5 separate regions of the Homo sapiens genome follow, and all the other regions are linked to region 4. The links are contacts of gene promoters, found by promoter capture Hi-C in blood cells and fetal thymus (Javierre and others, 2016). All regions are on one chromosome and are shown on one strand. The core of a region is centred on a gene start or on the middle of the fragment in contact, and the rest is flanking DNA. Distances in the headings are between cores, read along the strand shown. Region 1 overlaps LOC105370150 (a long non-coding RNA gene). Region 2 overlaps LOC105370150 (a long non-coding RNA gene). Region 3 has its middle 200 kb from the start of B3GLCT. Region 4 holds the start of RXFP2 (relaxin family peptide receptor 2). Region 5 overlaps B3GLCT (beta 3-glucosyltransferase).

Evidence for each region. Contacts are between HindIII fragments. The CHiCAGO score rates a contact against its expected background, and 5 or more counts as called.
Region 1: a fragment that was not itself captured here is called in contact with the fragment with the promoter of RXFP2 in region 4 in 1 of 17 cell types (M2 macrophages); the score reaches 5.9 in M2 macrophages.
Region 2: a fragment that was not itself captured here is called in contact with the fragment with the promoter of RXFP2 in region 4 in 1 of 17 cell types (endothelial precursors); the score reaches 5.8 in endothelial precursors.
Region 3: a contact is called between a fragment that was not itself captured here and the fragment with the promoter of RXFP2 in region 4, in 1 of 17 cell types (M2 macrophages). The highest score is 5.1, in M2 macrophages.
Region 5: a contact is called between a fragment that was not itself captured here and the fragment with the promoter of RXFP2 in region 4, in 3 of 17 cell types (M2 macrophages, M1 macrophages and megakaryocytes). The highest score is 5.5, in M2 macrophages.

What each region holds. Positions count from the first base shown.
Region 1 is chr13:31,451,515-31,454,214 of GRCh38, forward strand. All of the region lies in intron 4 of LOC105370150 (a long non-coding RNA gene), which reads left to right. Among named protein-coding and RNA genes, the nearest start is that of B3GLCT, 250 kb to the left of the region's middle. The HindIII fragment of the contact is 1,269 bases long and covers 692-1,960 here.
Region 2 is chr13:31,468,454-31,471,153 of GRCh38, forward strand. LOC105370150 (a long non-coding RNA gene) reads left to right here. Exons shown (of 6, transcript XR_941830.1): 6 at 2,028-2,163. Among named protein-coding and RNA genes, the nearest start is that of RXFP2, 270 kb to the right of the region's middle. The HindIII fragment of the contact is 2,454 bases long and covers 85-2,538 here.
Region 3 is chr13:31,400,994-31,403,693 of GRCh38, forward strand. No RefSeq gene overlaps it. Among named protein-coding and RNA genes, the nearest start is that of B3GLCT, 200 kb to the left of the region's middle. The HindIII fragment of the contact is 888 bases long and covers 890-1,777 here.
Region 4 is chr13:31,738,198-31,740,897 of GRCh38, forward strand. RXFP2 (relaxin family peptide receptor 2) reads left to right here and starts at 1,329. Exons shown (of 18, transcript NM_130806.5): 1 at 1,329-1,509. The coding sequence starts at 1,416. The HindIII fragment of the contact is 9,597 bases long and covers 1-2,700 here.
Region 5 is chr13:31,245,267-31,247,966 of GRCh38, forward strand. B3GLCT (beta 3-glucosyltransferase) reads left to right here. Exons shown (of 15, transcript NM_194318.4): 5 at 1,757-1,833; 6 at 2,589-2,700. Among named protein-coding and RNA genes, the nearest start is that of B3GLCT, 47 kb to the left of the region's middle. The HindIII fragment of the contact is 2,843 bases long and covers 1-2,700 here.

The DNA of each region.
Region 1 (2,700 bases), core at 76-2,575, 290 kb before region 4:
AATTCACTGACTCAAATTGCACAGCCTGCCAGCAGGGCACATCTGTGCCATCTCTTTTTGGCCTTGGTAGGTCCTGGATTAGAATAAAAGGTATGGCCCATCTGGCCCTCAGGTGACCCAACATTTGGATCGTGACACTACGTACCAGAGGCAGTCTCATGGTATGCGGGAAAGATGGGGAAGACTGGGTTCAATTACCCTTACAGAGCTTCCTGGTCACATTCCTTGGATTTTAGAACAGGAGTCTGGTAACTTATAGCCTTTGGGCTTCCCATAGAAAGATTTGTTTTGCCTACAGTGTTTTTCTTTTTAAAATGAGCTAATTATCAATATTTTAATATTGTGATATTTTATATCAAAAGCTAGATTTTCACTCTCTAGAAAAATCAGATCTGGTTACGCTGGATTTCCATTTCTACCTGGTAACATCCTGACCATTTAGTTGAGGCCTATGCTCTTTCCTTTGCCACATTGCTCTCCACTCTCTATTGCCTCCCTGGTTCTGGGTATCATTTACTAATCATGGTGCTTGTGATAGAGGTGCTTGTGATAGAGGCAGAGAAATTCTAGGCAGACAGAAGTGGGTCCTCAGTGAAACCCCACCTCCAACTGAAGACAGTTTAAAGACTGAAAGCCAACCTACAAGTTAAATCTTTGGACCCAGATTGAGATCTTGTCTTCCTGTTTGGCAAGCTTTCCTCTGATTGGTCCCCATCCTTCACCTATTTTACATATACATAAGTCTGGCAAAGTGAGAATCTAAACTCCGGAATGAATTTGAAGGTTTTGTTTAAGGGAGAAGATTTAAGAAAGTATCCTAGGTTGAGCACGTGCACCAAAGGCAGACTTACCCCACCTCTGAAAGATATTTTGGTACCCCATGAAGGAAGGCAAGGTACTACCTGGTAATACTTTAAACCCTTTGTCATGCATTATTAGCCCTTTCATTCACAGGTTATAGAACCTTAGAACTGAAGGGATCCTAGGGATCACTTACAGGAGGGATTATTGAGGCTTTTCCAATGACAGAGAGAGTAAAGGATTTTCCCAATGAGACAAAACAGTGCAGTGAAAACTGATGTTCCTAATTGGTTTTTCTACTTTGTTGTGCCCACCTTTGAGTGGTGCCTTTGCTTTAACTTTATTTGCATACTCACAAACCAATCAGCACACACTCCCCATTCTGAGTCCATAAAAGGCCCCAGACCTGGCCACCAGGGGGATCTTTCTGGCCTTTGGGTAGGGGAACAATCCCTGCACCCCCAGCAACTGTGTTCCTGTCTCTGTTGAAAGCCATTTTCATCATTCGATAAAAATCTTCTCCATCCTCCTCATCTTTCAATGTCCCACATATCCTCATTCTTCATGGGCGCAATGCAAGAGCTCAGGAACCACTGAACACAGGGGAGCTGAGGCATACTAATGTGGCCAAGCAAGGCCTGGGAGGGGCATCACCAGCCAGGAGTCCCTGGCTTGTAATTCTCACACACAGCCTGGTTTTTCTCATTCATGTTCCCTGCTTGCATCTATAGGAGTTTACATTTTTGACCCCCTTTCTAGTGAATTTTCTTTAAAAACCCTGATTTGGCATTAAGTGACCTACTTTAAGCTAACAAGCACTAAGTCCCTCTCTTATAGACTTTACACTTAAACTAGAAAAAAAAGACACAAACATACATTTATTCATTCAATATTTCTTGAGTACCTGCTATGTTCAAAGCATGTGCTAGACACTAGGATACAAAGATACATAAAGGAATCCCAGCCATTGCCCTCATGATTTTTACAGTCCAATTATAATATAATAATTAAATTATTATTAAAATAATAATAGCAATATATAATAATATAATCACAGGCAAATTCACATATAAAAAGGTAAAGGTTTGCTCTGAGAAAGTAAATGGTTACTATAAGAAAGTGGAAGTAGAAGCCTTAATTTACATCAAACAACCAAGAAAGCTTTCCAAAATGCAGCACTTGCTCGCTGCTCTTGGAGTGGGTAGACAATGTGATGCTCTGAAGTATGTCTATCCTTCTGAACTGGGAGATGTCACACAAGAGTTACATGGAATACATGGTTTATGAGATTCAGATTTAACTCTGAACTGTCAGGAACATAAGTGAACTGCCCTTGAGGACTGTGAATCATCTCCTGATATCATTGAGCATCAAGACTGTCTACAGAAACATCAGTTTTCACTGCACTGTTTTGTCTCATTGGGAAAATCATTTACTCTCTCTGTCATTGGAAAAGCCTCAATAATCCCTTCTGTAAGTGATCCCTAGGATCCCTTCAGTTCTAAAGTCCTATAACCTGTGAATGAAAGGGCTAATAATGCATGACAAAGGGTTTAAAGTATTACCAGGTAGTACCTTGCCTTCCTTCATGGGGTACCAAAATATCTTTCACAGGTGGGGTAAGTCTGGTAAAGTGAGATTCTAAACTCCGGAAGGTTTTGTTTAAGGGAGAATATTTAAGAAAGTATCCTAGGTTGAGCATGTGCACCAAAGGCAAAGATATAAAATATGGGCCATGAAAATAAAGGAGTAAGGCTGGGCGCAGTGGCTCACTCCTGTAATCCCAGCACTTTGGGAGGCCAAGGCGGGCATATCACGAGGTCAAGAGATCGAGACCATCCTGGCCAACATGGTGAAACCCCGTCTCTACTAAAAATACAAAAATTAAATTAGCTGGAT
Region 2 (2,700 bases), core at 62-2,561, 270 kb before region 4:
GAAGGGGGAACTTCCATGTTGAATATGCCCGGCCCCCGGGGTAGCCTTTTCCTTTTGGGAGAGCTGCCCACATTAAACTATGCAAGCTTCCAGCTTTCTTATTTATGTCTGCAGCCTGATTTTACCGGCTGCTCTTTGTTAGAAAAGAAATGATTTGGGGGCTGCTTTTTGTCACAAGGAAAGCCTTATCGAAGACTCTCTTACCCTAACTGCCTAAATAATTTCTTTTTAACTCCTGTATCACTTCTACTTCCTCTGTATCTGGAGTTCTGCAAAACGACTCGTTTTGCTTCTGGCCTTCACTAGGATTTCTCAACAGTGCTGTGTTAGGTTTCAAAATTTTCCAATCTGTAAGATCAATTAATATTCATCTGTCTTACAGTCAGCAAAATTTTATTGCTGTCGTCTTTTTTCCTGTCTACAACTTCTAAAAGTTCTCTCTTGTTTAAAAGTGGTGCTGTAGGAAAACGAGGCAAACTTGTATATTGAAGTCACCGTGTTTAATCCATTGCTTTCAATCTTTTTTTTGTCATTATATTTTCAGTATAATTTTTATAAACAGCAAATTGCTTTATTGAAAATAATCTAATTGGAGAGTCTTCATCTTCTACAAGGAGTTTCATTAAATAACAGTGATTGTCAGGATACATGGATTTATTTTATCAGTCTTATTTTGTTCTTTTTATTTATTATGCTTCTTTTCCTCCTCTTTGACTTCTGTTGAATTGATGGAGTTTTCTTCGTTCTTTTTAATTTCTACCACATTTTACTTCTAGTCTTTTAGTAATTCCCACTTATTTGACATAGTCTCAGTTAATCAACATCTCTGCCTTCTCCTTAGCAATATAAGAAACTCTGACCATTTTAACTCAGATATTTTCTCACATTACTGATGCTCTGTATTTTAATCCTATCTAGCTTATAACAGATATTTGTCATTTTTATAATTATTCTTAGAGTTTATTTATAGCTACCCATAAATTGATCATGCTTTCCATTGCTTCTTACATCCTGTTTCCTCTTTCTGGTTAGATTTTTTTCTTTTCATATTTTCTTTCTTTTTATTCTCCTATTTTTTCTCTATTTTTATTTTTAATTTTATTTTTAATTTATTTTTAATTTTATTTTTAATTTATTTTTCATTTTATTTTATTTTTAATTTTCCTTCTTTTCCAAGTGTTTAAAATTAACATGTTAATTAACATCTCAATTAGCTTTTAAGTCACTGCTGGAAGCTATTTTACCCTTCAGAAACATTCTAGATACAATAAACATTCTAGATACAATAAATTAAACATTCTAGATACAATAAAATATTCATATTTTGTGTTACTGTGTTGGATTTTCCCCATCCATCACCCAAGACAAATGGGTAACTCCCATACTTCATTTAGTAGTTAATATAAGGATAAGCATAAATTTCAGGAAGAAAGGTGGTAGGAGAAAGATAAATAGAAAAGAAGGAGGAGTAGTAAAAGCAGGAGGAGGAAAGAGAAAGGAAGGAAAAGAGATAAACATATATCCTTATAGTTTTAAATATAACTTAGTTTTTCTTATAAATCTTATTCTGATACTGTATTCAAGAGACCCTAGGAACATTTTTAGTTTCTTAAGATAAGCAAAGGGAAACATGAGATTTTATTGAAAGAAAAGATGTTCTAAAGGACAGAAACAAAAGGGACTGTCTCTTCTTAGAGCACAACTCTTATGGCAATTGAATGAGCTAAAGGGCCTTAGTGCTCATCCAATCCTAAATTGCTGAAATAGTAATTTAAGTCACTCACCATCTCTTTTGTTTAACTGCAGCTATTCTTGAATAATGGAAGAATAGGTACATAGAATAACTTTTTAACAATGTCTCACTCCTGACACAGAAGAAGTTCTTTGTTAATGCATTTAACTGAATTCTGATTTAATAGTTCAATTCATTTATTTCAACCAATATTTATTGGCTGGTGATACAATTGCTTCTCAAGGAGAAATGATTTGAACAGGAGAAGAGTTTTTAAAATATTTTTTTAAAATAGGAGATTTGTACACCAAGATTCTTCTGTGCTGTAGTCAAAAGTGATGTGCCCTTGAATGGACTCTGAATGTCCTTCAACACAATAGACATGGCCAAGGAAAATAAACCTGAAGAAAAGAAATCCTGGAAAGACTGGAGGTCTAAGAGGCATGGCCAGGGTGTTGAATGTAAGTGAATGTAACAGATGAACTTCTGCATTTGGGGCTATTCTCTGAGTCACCTTGTTTTATCATAAGCAATTGAGCCATGGAAGAAATGCAGAGTAAATATTCTAACTCCAGAGGATACATGCTTTGTAGTTCACAACCTTCAAGATGAGGTTGATACTTCAGCCTTCAAGATGACACTAATCAGGCCATGCATTTCTCTGAGCTTTGGCTTCCTTATTTGTTAACAAAACAAGGTGAAATATGACTTGGTTATGAACATGAGCTTCAAGGTCAGGCATAGATAGTTCAAGTCATGCTCTGGCATTTACTAATGATTTAAATATGGATAAGTTATTTAACCTAAGCTTTAAAAAAAGGTTTTCTTTTATTTTAGTTTTGAAGCTGTGAAATGAGGATTAGAAAAATACGTATGTCATAGAACTGTGAGATTGAAGTAGTTTAGTTCGTTAAAGCACTTAGCACTTAGTCCCAATGCCTAGACAACACAACCTCCCATAAATGTTG
Region 3 (2,700 bases), core at 84-2,583, 340 kb before region 4:
TGAGGTTCTTTTGCTGTAAAGTATAGTTAAAGTCCAATATTTTCTTACTTATTTTCTGCTGAAAAATCTGTCCATGTCAAAAGTGGGTTACTAAACTTCCATATTATTATTGCATTACATTCTGTTTCTCCTTTCAGATCCTTCGATATTTGCTTTATATATTTAGGTGCTTTGATATTGAGTGCATATGTATTTATAATTGTTACATCCTCTTGATTAATTGACTTCTTTTTGTTATATAATGACCTTCATTGTCTCTTTGTATAGTTTTTTATTTACAGTCTATATTGTCTGATGTAAGTATACCTACCTTTGCTCTCTTTTGATTTCCATTTGCACAGAATGTGTTTTTCCATCCTTTCACTTACAATCTGTGTGTTTACTTAAAGGTGAAATGAGCCTCTTGTAGGCAGCAGATAGTTAGGTTTTTTAAAAAATCCTTTCTGCCACCCTATGTCTTTTGATTGGAGAATTTAATCCATTTACATCCAAAGTTATTACTGATAACTAAGGACTTACTACTGTTACTTTATCAATTGTTTTATAGATTCTTTGTTCTTTTGTTTTTCTTTCTTTCTTGGAGTCTTTCTTTATGGTCTGATGGTTTTCTGTAGAAGTATAATTTGAATTTTTTTTAAAAAAATCTTTCTCATTGTTGTAATTCCAGCACCTTGCACAATCCTAGTATACTTCAGATACTCATTGTTCGTTGAATTCAAAGGAAATAGCTTCAAATCATGTTTAAAACTACGGTTACCTTTTGTTTCTGTTTCCCTCAACCAATATTGATTCTTCTTACATAATTATATTTATAATTATCCTTTCTTGTGAGTCTCACTACCTCAATTTTAGTTCAGACCTTTTTAGCCTCAAATCTTTATCAGTGCTAAGCTTCCAAAATGCCTCCAGCTTTCCAGGGGCTCTTCATTACTCCTTTCATGAATACTGTCTCCTCAAGGTAATGTCAAGCCACTTTGATCATTTTGATGCTAGTATGTATAGGTTAAAACCACATCCCACTGGCATTAAGGTCTCTGCAATCTGATACCCTTCAACATATGCAGCCTCATCTATTTCCTAACTTCCCCAGACCATAGGAAAATATTATGTTTCAGTGGAAAACTAGAGCATTATCTCTCAAGGGGTAATTTGATTCTGAGTCTGTGGGAGTTCTGCACCTTTCAATATCTTGAAGCTATTTTCAAACTCTGTAAATGGTAGATAACTCATAGCAATGCAAAATAATTCTTGTCTATAGATGTCTAATTCAGATGTTATCTAAAAGTTAGTTCAAATTACAGACTTGAAAAGGTTATTTATGGGTCGGGCATGTTGGCTCATGCCTGTAATCCCAGTACTTTGGGAAGCCGAGGTGGGCAGATCACTTGAGGCCAGGAGTTCGAGACAGCCTAGCCAACATTGAGAAACCCCATCTCTACTAAAAATACAAAAATTAACTGGGCGTGGTGGCACGTGCCTGTAATCCCAGCTACTCAGAAGGCTGAGGTGGGAGAATCGCTTGAACCCAGGAGGCAGAGGTTGCAGTGAGCCTAGATTGTGCCACTGCACTCTAGCCTGGGTGACAGAGCAAGGCTATCTCTCAATTAAAAAAAAAAAAAAAAAGAAAAGAAAAGAAAGAAAAAGTTATTTATGAAACAATATAGTAAGGAACCATTAAGTAGAGGTGAAAGATGTGGAAAAGTTTAAACTATAGAATATTCCTTAAAACCTGATAAAGAATTGGAAGCATTTGGCTAATTAACATTTTCATAGTTAAAGCTTTTAGTCTTCATTAAAGTAAGAAGTATTGTAAAAATGCATGGGCAATTTGACAATTCTTTTTTTAACATAGTTAAGCATGAAGCTGGATTTATCACAGAACCAAATGTCACATATATGCTTGCATTACTTCACACTATGTTTACTGCCGTACGTGGATAGTGTGGTTATTGGTCGTGTGCCTTAAGTGAATTACTTAATTGCACAGGATGTATGATGGCGTTGGTGAACTTGGGGATGTTGAATTGAGTATCAGGAATAAAATATTCATTATGTGGGTTTTCTGGGGCCCTAGGAAACACTGTTGGCTAGGGAAAATTGAGTATGAAAATTTAGGGTTGGTTTCCTGTTTATTTGTTTTTGCTCTAGTTTTCATTCCTTTGCTCTTTATTCTCCTCTGATTTTGCTTGTGTATCCATATATATAAAATCATGATTTTATTATTTTAGTTTGGTTTTTATTTCGTTATGTGAATAGTTGTTTTGCTTCCTATGCACTTCTAGCAAGTCATCTTCCGTTCCATTTATCTGGAATTCCTAAACTACTTTTGTCAGGCCTGCAAGAATTAATGGAACACGCCAGCTTTTTATCCTTAAACTAACCTTGGATTTTAGCCTTCCTGGTACTTTGTGTTAAGTATACTCTCACAAATAGAATTTGAGTCATATTTCTCTCTCTGCCTAACTTCTCCAATATTTGTAAACTATTCATGAATATTCTTAATTCATGTGTTCTTTTGCATACATTCAAGCAGGGTCGCCAGGGTCGCTCAGGGAGAGAGAACCCAGACACCTGGCACGCAGGCATAAGGGTAAGAATTTCTTACCAGTCAGTCTTGGGCCTCTTTCTCTCTATGCAAACTGGTTAATCTCCTTTGTGAAGTTTTAAGTTAATTGGTTTAATAATAAGAAGAACTTAAAT
Region 4 (2,700 bases), core at 79-2,578:
CATGCTCAAAATTTCAGTACCAGAAACTAGCATCCATCATCTCGACAGCAAAACACAAAACGTAAGAAAAACTAATCATTCCTTTAAGTGAAATAAGGCAATTTTTACCTAAAAAGACCTTGAGGTTAGTGAGGGAAAAAAAGATGCTTGAAATGTAAGAAAAGATCCTGAAGTATTTCTTTTCATCTTTATTCTCTCTGTTGCTTTTTCTTTTGATTTGAAAGATCAGATGAGACCACATATAAATATGTCTGGGAGGTGTCTTAGAGAACTTAACTCACTTCTTAAAAAGAGAAAAGAACTAAATACATTATGTGATAAATAAAGTATTTTTTATTGTACATTCTGTTTGAATCCTTGTTCTCTCAAAGGCTAGAATGAAAGAAAGAACAAGGAAAACCCCGTGTTTTATGATTTGTGACGATAATAGTCACCACAAGGTAGTTTTTTTCAGTGTTGTTAGGACACAGTTAACGACAACATATAAGAGAATCTGCATCGTTCAGTCACAAAATCTTCTCTTCAAATCAGAACTACAAACTGTATTCTAGATAGATATTTCCCTGTTAGTAAAATATAAACTCAGACATGGAAATTCTACATCTTTTTGGAGAAGTCTTAATGATTACACTAGGATCAACAGAATCCTACAACCAAAAGTCAATTTTTATACTTTTAACTTGTACTAACTATGCTGTTGAGAAAGCTGCTTTCAGGATGTAAGAACTAAATTATAATTAGTGTTTTCTAATAGGTGTGCAATACAGAGCTGGAAGCAAGAATAAAATTATTCACTTCAAGAAAAAGGAATATGATTATGCGGGAAGTATGTGAAGTGAAAATATTGTATGAATGTTTTACAGTAATTATTTAACACAATGCCATATATTTAAATTATCTTTTCATATGTCATTTGAAAACATTTAGGTACATTTGAATAGAAGTGGGTGTTCTTTGTGTATCTGTCAATAAGTAGTTTTTTACATTTGTTTATTGCATGAAAATATAATTGTAAAGGGTTTCATAGCCTATTCAGTGTAAGCCTATATCCTTCATATTTGAGAACTTCGATGTTTGGATTTAAACAGAGCAAATTGTACATGCTTTGGAGGAAAAAAATTTTTAAGTGATTAAAAAATATTTCTTATCAGATAATACCAAAGTCCTATTATACCTTCTTTTACACACCATAATGAATTAGTGATCAAGAACACAACTGTAGATTTAAACTAAAAGAAACAAAAAAGAAAGAACAAAAAAGACAGGCTGCATAGTGACAAGAATCCATCTCCCTTCATGCCAGTGAGGTTCTAGCTGTGAGCATGCTCAGAACATGGGAGGCACTGAACTTACTACATCAGAACTCCTGCTGAGGTATAAGAGGATACGTCTAATAACTCAATTGCTGTAAACCTATGATTGTTTTTCTGGTTTTTAAACATCTCTTCAGCCTCAGATTGATTACAATGTTCTTTCTACTTCATTTCATCGTTCTGATCAATGTCAAAGGTAAGGTTGCTACTTTCTCGTTTTAAATGAGTGCAATTCCCAAAAAATACATTTCTATGTAGTTCTATGGCAGTTGTAATAAATATATTGGGGTGTTTAAAAAAAAAACAGACATCAAATTTGCCTGGTATTTGTCATTATCTTTCATTGCTTGTAGTCCCACACAGCCTAGTAATTTTTAGATGCAACAAATTTTTCATGGAAACAAGCCTTTGTATGTTATTAAAGCTGTAGATAAAATATGTCAAAAAACAATGTTGACTATATCAATTAAAACATAGAAAACATTTTTGGCATTTGTTCTGAAAAGTGTGACAAATTAATAAACTAAAATTGTGTTTTGTGGAATTTCAACCTGTTGAAATATGCCCATAAAATTCAAGTAATTATTAGTAACTATCTTGCGTGAACATAATTAAACTGGGAACTCCAAAGCCACAGGCAGATCTAAAAAACAGTATCTGTCTCTAAGAGTAAACCTCTCTAAAATAAAGTTATTAAAAGTCTATACAAGTGCATTTACTTAGATAATTTTCTTTTGTTTTTAATTTGTGGAAATTTTTATTTCAGTCAAACTCTTAAGTTTCAAGTCAGTACCATTTTCATTGTAAAGCTCACCAAAAAATAAAACCTAAATCTTCACTTGTTTTTAAATAAAAAGATACGTTGTCAGCCTATACATTCATAAACAACCTATTAACCACACCCAAGATTTGCTGGGGTTTATTATTATTCAAAAATGTTTCTATTTTAATTTGTATTTTTTCTTAAAGAATTTTGATAAACCTCTGAGAATAAAGGTTAAAATTTGAAATTATTTTTATTTTCTGAGAAATTCGTTTTAGGTTTTTTAAATATTCAGTTTTATTAGGTGAATTCCAAGTGAATATTTTAAATCTTGAAATAAAATGCAATACTTATGAGGAATTATTTTAAAACTTCTAACAAACAAAAGATTTTTAAAAGGCTTAAAATATCTAAATTTTATTTTGAATTTAAAATAATACTAAAACTTTACTACAAATATTTAAAATCTATATCTCCATGCACCTAGCATGACTTTTATTTTATATTTTAATATCTCTTACATGAAAAGCTAAGGATTAACTAAGAAGAAACAATATATGAACTCACCTTGCATGCAGTACAGTTGCAACAAGCAGTCTATTTCTATATTTAAGGTCCTACTTC
Region 5 (2,700 bases), core at 101-2,600, 490 kb before region 4:
AAGGAAGCCTTTTCTCAGTTAATAGCTGTTGATATTACATTATATATATATCCTATAACTAGGAAGTATAATACTTGTTTGGAAGTAAATTTTTGAGGTGCATTCATTTTCCTTCAATGTTTAAAAAACTTAGCTATGTTTTAATTGAAGGATTTTTAAAGCATATATCTCATTGTTCTATCATCTTGACACAAATATTTTCACTTCCTGGTTCTTCTAGTCTCTGTTCATCTAGGATTTTGTTTTATTCTTGGAATCATGTCTGGTTTTTTTCTATTAAACATAAAGACATTTCCGTTGTTATAAAGTTTTCATCATAATTTTAATTGATACATAATAACTCATTAGCTACTTTTATGTAAAACTTTAAAAAGTATTTGCTATATTTCTTTTCTTGTCTAGCTCACATTTGCATTTACCCATAATTATTCCAAAGTTTTATGCAAATAGTAACATCATTAGTTTCTTTACACATGATTTTCTGCTCTTATGTAATCCTTCATGAATATATATATTTGCTGGAATTTTAAAAAGACAATGAAAATTACTGCATAATTCAGAAGTAACAGTAGGAAGGCCCTGAATTATTTATATTGGGTAACTGCTAATTCAGCCTTAAGGTTTGCTCTTTCTAACATACCACATTGTTTGTCTGATTTAACCTGTGATTACTGTTTTTTGCATTTCATATTTCTACATGGAAGTTGAAATGAATATTATATAAAATAAATGAGATTTACTTGAAATTTAATTCCAAAGATTTACATTAAAGACTATTCTCTTCTTAAATAATAAATATCTATGAACTTTAAGACAGCTGTGAAATCCACATCAGTGCAGTAATGTTTCAGATACTTAGGTACTTGTTCTTGAATTCTTTTGTCTGTAATGGTTACTAGGAATATAGTTTTATGGCTAGTATAAAACACAGGATATAATAAAGTTTGTTGGGGGAGGAGGTTTAAGCATATGAGATATGAAATTTTTGACTTTTGGCTTTTGTAACAACTTGAAATATAGGGAATAGTGTTTTGCTTCAAAGCTAACACTCGTAGCCTTAAAAATATTAATCTCTCTTTATATATGTATACATAATTTATGTAAGCACAGTTGTGCCTTATTTCTGAATTTTAGTTCCTCCTATGCTTATAAATTTGTCAATTCCATTATTATGCTATTCCTGTTATTGCCTGAGTAATTAAGGATTACATTTCTCGACCAAAACTTTTTGTTATCAGGGTATTTTAATGTGTTTAGAGAACTTTAAAAAGTAAAGTAATTTTTGCACATGAGGTAGATCAAATATTGTATCCTCTAGTTTAGCCAAAGGGTTTTCATTTTCACATGTTCCATATGTTGTATATAAAATAAAAAACTGCTTCTGTGCCTCTGAGTTATCCCTGACTACTTCCCCCAGGCTCTTCCCTTCAAGTCACCTTCACAGATTTCAGGTTGGCTCGGAGTCACGGAAGACCCTCCTTGTAGGTCTTGAGCTCTATTTGGGTGTGTGGGTGGTGCAGAGTGTAGAGGTTGCATGGATTCAGCCAAAATACTTCATTTCCAGTAGCTCCTGGAGAAAATGAGGAAAAAGAAGTGGTTTGAAGAGTACCATGTCAGGTCTCTAGAAACAGCTGCATTTTAAGCCAAGCCTTTTCTTTTTTTCTTTTTTCTTTTCTTTTCTTTTCTTTTTTTTTTTTTTTACTTTTTTTCGGAGTAGTCAATTCATACTTATCTTCTTTGATCATTGTTTTCTCAGGAGCTCCCCAGTGTCCTCCTCCTTCATCAGCTGGCTAAACAAGAAGGTGCATGGACCATACTTCCGTTGTTACCGCAGTACGTTTGTTTAACTCACCTGTGAATTACTGACATTCCTACCTGAACACTTTTACGCCCTTAGTCTTTTTATTAAGAGGGTGTGGTTTTCCTCAGTCAGTAAGTGAAGTAAATTTGAGTTTTACTTTTTATGATTACTACCTTAACCAAATTTCTTGATGATTGGTTCTTAATCATGAATAGCTTTTTCTTTTTTTTTGGAGACAGAGTCTCGCTCTGTCGCCAGGCTGGAATGCAGTGGTGACTTGGCTCCTGCAAGCTCTGCCTCATGGGTTCAAGCAATTCCCTGCCTCAGCCTCCCGAGTAGCTGTGACTACAGGCGTGCACCACCACTCCCAGTTATTTTTTTATTTTTAGTATAGATGAGATTTTACCATGTTGGCCAGGATGGCCTTGATCTGTTGACCTTGTGATCCGTCTGCCTTGGCCTCCCAAAGTGCTGGGATAACAGGCGTGAGCCACCACACCCTGCCCTATATATGCTTTTTCTTAAAGAATAAAATGCTTCAAGTTGATATTTGAAAATTATTTATCCCCTGAACTAGTGTTGTTATGGAGAGAATTAACTTTACGAACTCCAGCTGTTTTTTAAACCATTAGCATCTGGCTTTTCTATAAGCTGAAGAAAAATATAGAGAAAAAAATTAGATATGCCATTCTGTGTACCCTTCATTCACTTCCTACTGATCAGTTTTAAACCTTATTATTAACTTATTTTACAGAAGTGATTACTGAAACTTGTTTCTTTTGGTCAGTTTTTCTGTAACATATAGCAGAAATTCATCTTGGATTTTCTTCTGTGAAGAAGAGACAAGAATACAGATTCCAAAACTCTTGGAAACCCTCAGAAGATATGACCCCTCTAAG